2 separate regions of the Homo sapiens genome follow, and region 2 is linked to region 1. Evidence: promoter capture Hi-C in 16 types of primary human blood cells and fetal thymus (Javierre and others, 2016). All regions are on one chromosome and are shown on one strand. Each heading gives the region's core, a stretch centred on a gene start or on the middle of the fragment in contact. The rest is flanking DNA. Distances are from core to core; before and after follow the strand shown. Region 1 holds the start of GBX2 (gastrulation brain homeobox 2). Region 2 has its middle 25 kb from the start of COPS8.

The links. Contacts are between HindIII fragments. The CHiCAGO score rates a contact against its expected background, and 5 or more counts as called.
Region 2: a contact is called between a fragment that was not itself captured here and the fragment with the promoter of GBX2 in region 1, in 1 of 17 cell types (neutrophils). The highest score is 5.3, in neutrophils.

The regions. Positions count from the first base shown.
Region 1 is chr2:236,166,719-236,170,085 of GRCh38, reverse strand. GBX2 (gastrulation brain homeobox 2) reads left to right here and starts at 1,700. Exons shown (of 2, transcript NM_001485.4): 1 at 1,700-2,637. The coding sequence starts at 2,115. It overlaps GBX2-AS1 (GBX2 and ASB18 antisense RNA 1), which reads right to left and starts at 2,644. Exons shown (of 2, transcript NR_186035.1): 1 at 2,417-2,644. It overlaps LOC124906126 (a long non-coding RNA gene), which reads right to left and starts at 1,060. Exons shown (of 2, transcript XR_007088136.1): 1 at 702-1,060; 2 at 290-557. RefSeq lists an enhancer at 2,569-3,367. The HindIII fragment of the contact is 5,712 bases long and covers 899-3,367 here.
Region 2 is chr2:237,109,793-237,112,980 of GRCh38, reverse strand. No RefSeq gene overlaps it. Among named protein-coding and RNA genes, the nearest start is that of COPS8, 25 kb to the right of the region's middle. The HindIII fragment of the contact is 1,948 bases long and covers 408-2,355 here.

The sequences.
Region 1 (3,367 bases), core at 451-2,950:
GGAGTGGGGAAACGCGATCGAGACGTCTTTGTCCGGGTGGTGGTAGGGAGGGAGGAGGCGAGGAGGAGGAGAGGGCTGGCGGCGGACCAGCGAGTTTTCCCAGCGTCCCGGGGCGCCAAGGACACACCCTCCCCTCTTTCCTCCAGGTCTGCTGGGTGGGCAGTGGGTCTCCGGCGGGACTCCTGGCAGAGGAGCTGATCTGGGATTAAGACGTCCCCCGGGGGGCCTTGGGGCTAGAGCGAGAGAAAGAGGAAGAACGCGAAAAAAGAGCTTCAAAGAATCGGGTCGATAAATTCATAAAGATCGATTTATCTTTATCTCCCAATTAAATGTGCTTGTAAGTGATACATAACACACGTCCAACACGGGCCAACTCCCCAACCACTAGCTCCTCGGCGTGAGCTGATTTTTAATGACCGAACTAACAATGCCCTTCTTTCCTTCTCCCCAACCCGGTGCTGTTGGCGGTTCAGGGCTGACGTCTAGACCCGGGAAGTTGAAGCCCGGGCCTTGGAGACTCGAGGAAGCCCCGCTCGCGCTGGTGCGCTCTGCACGGTCTGCCGTTGTCAAGAAGTGATTCCATTTTTAAAGGGAAGACAAGAGCTGAAAGTTTTTTGTTTGAAAATGGAAGAGGGGATAAGTACGTCCCTAGTTTCCCTCCACCCCAAAATTCCCTTACTTTCAAATTTGGGGGTCTTTACCGTTGTCGAGAACAGGGGAAACATCCTGAGGGGATCGGCTCCATCCTGCAGTTAGCAAAGAGGAACCGCGCGCCCTCGAGTCCTCGCGCTGGAAACCGGGCGGCGGCGCCAGGGTGAGCACTCCTTGCGTTCGCAACGTGCTTAATTAGCGCCTATTTACAAAACGCAGCTTTTATTTGAGCAAACATCATAAAGCTTTCATCAGGATAATCTCACGTTATACAATCTGGAGGCACAGCAACTCCCCCCTTCCTCCCCGAGGATGGAGCAGATAAAGGACTCTCTTTATTATCATAATTATCGTGGTTGTTATTTTGGTGCGCGCTGGCAAAGTGTGTAAATAGGTGCGATGATTAAGAATGTCATGAAAAATGAGAGACGGGATCGCTCACGGGAGGGCCCAGCCCGGGATGGGGGAAGCAGCAGCCTCCCCGCCCCACCCGGTGCGCGGACCTACAGCGAGCAACCCGGCGGGTTTCTGGCGGCGGGCAGGCGCTGCCAGCTCCCAGCCTTCGCCCCGGGGGTGGCTCCGGAGGGGCAGGACCCTGCCCCCAACTCCAGGACCCTCGCCCGGACCCCAGGCGCAGCCGGAGCACCCAGCGCTGGAGTGAGCCGCAGGCAGGTTGGTTCCATGGCAAATACAGTAAAAGAAATAAAGCGCCCCCGGCCCAGCCGTGGGGGTGCGGGCCCCGGAGGCTACCCTTCGAGGTGGCCTCGACAAGGCTGCAGGGCCCCAAGGTCCGAGCCTTGGAGGTGCCATCCGCCCGTCTCAAGTTTGCGCGGCACGGGCTAGGCATGCAGGCTCCGGCTCCCCGGCCCGCGCGCTCCGACGGTGGCGCCCGCAGCCCGCTCGAGGCCAGCTTGGGTGGAAAGGGCGGGGCCCCGCTTTCGCCCCACCCCCGCCCCGCTCAGCCAATGGCCAGAGGCGCCCAGCCCCACGTGAGGCGAGCCGGGCCAGGCGGCAGGCAAAATGTGAATGAGAAAGAGGAGCGCGATTTAAAGGTGCTGGCTGCGCCCGCCGGAGATAAGTACGCCGGCTTCGCGCGCTCCCCAGCGGCCCGCGGGAGGCGACGGACGGCGGGACGGACGGACGGACGGCAGCTTACCGGGGCCGAGGGCCAAACCCGCGAAGCGCGCGGGCTCCGACGGGCAAGCGGCGGACGGGGGCTCCGGCGAGCCCTCGGGGCCCGGGCGCCCTCTCCACTCCGGGGCGCACGGCCTCACCCCGCACACCCCCTGCACCCGCCCGGCATGCAGCGGGCCCAGGACTGAGGGGCGGAGGCGTCTGCTCTCCGGGTCCCGCTCGGCCCCTGCCCGGCGCTCCCGGCGGTGCTCCCGGCGTCCGGCGGGCTTCCCGGCGGCGGCGCGGCGCGGGGACTTTTCGCCTCTCGCTGGCCTCTACCGAGCGCGTCTATGAGCGCAGCGTTCCCGCCGTCGCTGATGATGATGCAGCGCCCGCTGGGGAGTAGCACCGCCTTCAGCATAGACTCGCTGATCGGCAGCCCGCCGCAGCCCAGCCCCGGCCATTTCGTCTACACCGGCTACCCCATGTTCATGCCCTACCGGCCGGTAGTGCTGCCGCCGCCGCCGCCGCCGCCGCCCGCGCTGCCCCAGGCCGCGCTGCAGCCAGCGCTGCCGCCCGCACACCCTCACCACCAGATCCCCAGCCTGCCCACAGGCTTCTGCTCCAGCCTGGCGCAGGGCATGGCGCTCACCTCTACGCTCATGGCCACGCTCCCCGGCGGCTTCTCCGCGTCGCCCCAGCACCAGGAGGCGGCAGCGGCCCGCAAGTTCGCGCCGCAGCCGCTGCCCGGCGGCGGTAACTTCGACAAGGCGGAGGCGCTGCAGGCTGACGCGGAGGACGGCAAAGGCTTCCTGGCCAAAGAGGGCTCGCTGCTCGCCTTCTCCGCGGCCGAGACGGTGCAGGCTTCGCTCGGTGAGTCGGCGGCGCGCGCAGCCGGGACGAGGGGGCGGGAGGAGGCGGGGGCGGGCCAGCGCCGGGTTCCCGCGGGAGACCAAGGGGGCGAGGCCGCGCCCCCGCTCGACCCCCGCGGGAGGAGCTGGAGGATGAGGCCCGGCTGTGCCGCTGGGCCTCCGGGGGACATTCAGAGCCACCCAACAAGCGGGGTCTCGGGAGGGGGGGCGTTTAGCGCCCGGCGACCAGCTGCTGCCCTGGGCCACATATCTATCTGACGATGCGTTTGGCCGAGGCCGCCTCTGCCGCTCCGCGGTGACCTGGGGTTCCGGGTAGGTTGCAGCCTCTAGGGGAGACGGGTTGGGCTGCGCGTCTCAGCCGTGCGTGTGCCCAGGGGCGCCCAGACTTTTTAAACCCCTTCGCTGGTCTTGCTACTTGTCTGGGAGAAACGGACTGCTGGGAGGCTGTGCCTGTGTGTTTGTGTTGGGGGTGTCTGGTGGGAACTTATAAGGCCACAAAACATCCCTTTGACCAACGTTGTCTGTCTCAAAAAAGATGGTCTGGGATCTGCACGTCCCTACGCCTCCACTCCGGTTAGGAAGCAATTGAGGTTCACTACATTTTCATGGTGGCGGTGGGGGGAGGATGAATCGTGAATCCCCCCATCAGTCCTCAACCAGTCCCCACCCCAGGGACAAAGCGGGCAATCTCTTGGGCCTCGCGCCTCCTGCTACTTCTCCTGACGCTGCCG
Region 2 (3,188 bases), core at 132-2,631, 940 kb before region 1:
GTTGGAACTGTTCTTCAGTGCTATTTATTTGTTTATATCCATATGGAATAATGAATTCTTATGTAATTGAACAGGTTATAATCCTTAACTATCATTTATTTTGATGCTCAATCTGTCCCTAATTTGGCCAGACAGATCCCCTTTCAAGCTGGCTCTAGTGTCCTGTTAGTATGTCTTCCAATTCTTTAAGTTCCTCCTTGCTTTCTGGCACAAGCTGTTTTAAGCGGTTCTCTACTTACAGACCTGAAACCAACTATTTCTCCAAGGAGTCCTGTGTCCTTTTAAAGAAATAGCCTTGGTTTCATTGATTTTATTAATTGTAAGGTTTTTATGTTGCTTATTTCTGTTCGCTTCTTTATCTGGGGCTTAATTTGCTCTTCTTTTTCTAAGTTCTTAAGATAGAAGCTTAGATAACTGATTCTAGATTTTATTTTAATAAAATAAGCATTTTAAAACATGAATTTCACTCCAAGTAGGGCTTTAATCCCACAAATTTTGTTATGGCTGTTTTGATTTTCATTCATTTCAAAATATTTCCTCGTTATCCTTGTAATTTCTTCTTTCACCCATGGGTTATTTAGAAGTACATTTTAAAATTATTGAATATTTGGGGATTTAAAATATATCTTCTGCTATTGATTTCTAATTTAATCCTGTTATAATCAGAGAACACATAATGCATGATTTCTAACCTTTTAAATGTATCGACACTTGCTCTGTGGCCCAGCATATGGTTTATCTTTGTGAATGTGTTATTCTGCTGTTGTTCGGTGGAGTGTCAAGTAGGTTTGCATGGTAATAGTGTTGATCATGTCCTCTATATCCTTATGTATTTTCTAATGTTCTGTTAATTACTGAAAAAGAAGTATTAAAATATCCAACTGTAATTGTGGCTTTGTTGGTTTCTCTTTTCAGTTCTATCAGCTTTAGATTCATGTATATTTGAAGCTCTGTTGTTGGAGGCTTATACATTCCGGATTATTATGTCTTCCTGATAAACAGGCCACTTTATCATTTTGAAAGGTCTCTCTTTATCCTTTGTAACATTCCTTGTTCCAATATTGACTTCATCTGATATCAACATAGCCACTCCATATTTCTTCTGTTTAGTGTTTCCATGACATATAATTTCATTTATTTTACTTGTAACCTCTTTTTAAGTATAACAGATTTCTTGTACACAGAATATAATTGGGTCTTGCATTTTTAGTCAGTATGACAACCTCTTTTTGGTTAGAGCGTTTGTAATTATTCATATGATAGTTTTAAATCTCTCATCATGCTATTTGTTTTCTGTTTGTTTCATCTTAGTTCCTTTCCCCCTCACTTCTTGCCTTATTTTGAATGGAATGTTTTTTAAATTATTATTTCATCTATATCCACTATTGGACTTATTTGTTATATCTATGTTTTCTTTACTGGTAGTTATTCAAGAGCAGTGAGGTCCAATAGAATTTTCAGTAATGATGGAAATGTTCTATATTTATGCTCTCAAATATGGTAGCCACATGTGACTACTGAGCATTTGATATGTAGTTGGTGCCACTGAAAAAGTGAATAATTAATTTTATTTCATTTTCATTAATTAAAATTTAAATTTAGTCAGTTGTGGCTAGTGGCCACCATATTGGACATTTCACGCTAGGCTTCAATATCTTTTCCTTATTATAATTTAACTTTACTGTATTTTACCACTTACTATATAAGACCATTACAAAAGTATATATCCATTTCCCTCTTCAATTCTTTGCACTATTGTTGTCATATATTTTACCTTTACATATTAAAAATCCTACATTATTTTTGCTTCAAATAGCTATCTTTTAAAGCAATGAAAAAATAAAGACATTTTACCCACATATTTACTATTTCTGATGTTCTTTATACCTTCATATAGATCTAAATGTATCTGATCTGATATGATTTTATTTCAGTTGGAAGAACTTCCTTTAACATGTATTTCAGTGCAGATCTCTTGTTGATGAACTCTTTAAGTTTTTGTTTGTCAAAAAAAAAGTTGTTTTTTTCCTTTGACCTTAATTTTTCAGGACATTTTTACTGGCTTTAGAATTCTAGTTTGACAGTTGTTTTCTTTTAGGCCTTTAAAGATGTCATTCCATTATCTCATTGCTGTAAATTCTTATCTTTCTTTTTATGTAATGTGTCTCCGCCTACTCTAAGATACAGCAACTCCTTTAAAATTTTAAAAAAAATTTTTATCGGTTGTCCAGCAATTTTATGATGTATTTTGTACAACATATGTGTGTGTTTATTCTAGTTAGCATTGATTGAACTTCTTGGATCTGTGAGATTATGTACTATTCATCAAATTTTTGGCTAATTCTTCAAAAAGCTTTACTTCATCTTAGCTTGTGGGGACTCTAATCACACTTGCATTAGACCTCTTGATATTAATCCACTCATTTTTAATTCTTTCTTTTCCTCTAAACTTCCTCTGAGATATATCCTGTTCCTTATAATTCATTGATATTTTCTTCTGTAGGGTCTATTCTGACATTAAAACAATCCAGAGAAATTTTCATTTCAGATCTTGTATTTTTTTAATCTGTAAAAGTTTCACCTTGGTCTTTTATATCTCTTCTATTTCTATACTCATTGTGTTTATGTTTTCCTTTATATCCTTAAACACTTAAAGTATATTCATCATATCTGTTTTATCATCTCTGTTTGCTATTTCCATCATTCCTTTCATTTCTGTGTCTGTTTCTAGTAAGTGATTTTTCTCCTAGTTATAACATTTTTCTTATTCACATAATGTCTAATAATTTTTTATTTGTTGTTGAGCATTGTGAGGTTAGGTTGTAGAGTGCTGAATTTTGAAGTATGTCTTCAAAGAGTGTTGCAACCAATTATGTAACTTGTGGATTTAGCTGTTTTGAAGCTCTTTTAAACTTTTGTACAGAAGATCTATATTTACCTTTAATTTAGGGCTAATTTAGCCCCACTACTAAGGTGTGGCCCTTCTGGAGTCTCTAGTGAACACTCCATTTAGTCAATGAGGTCTTCTTACTATAGATGAAGGGATCTTGAATGATTTCTAGCTCTTTGTTAATTTTTTTTTCTCATAGTTTTCCAGTAATTGTTCTTTCCTTGGAAGCTATTCTTGCCCACCTCATGGGATTTCACCCTACACATGAGCAGACTGGCACTCAACCAAAGACTCAAGC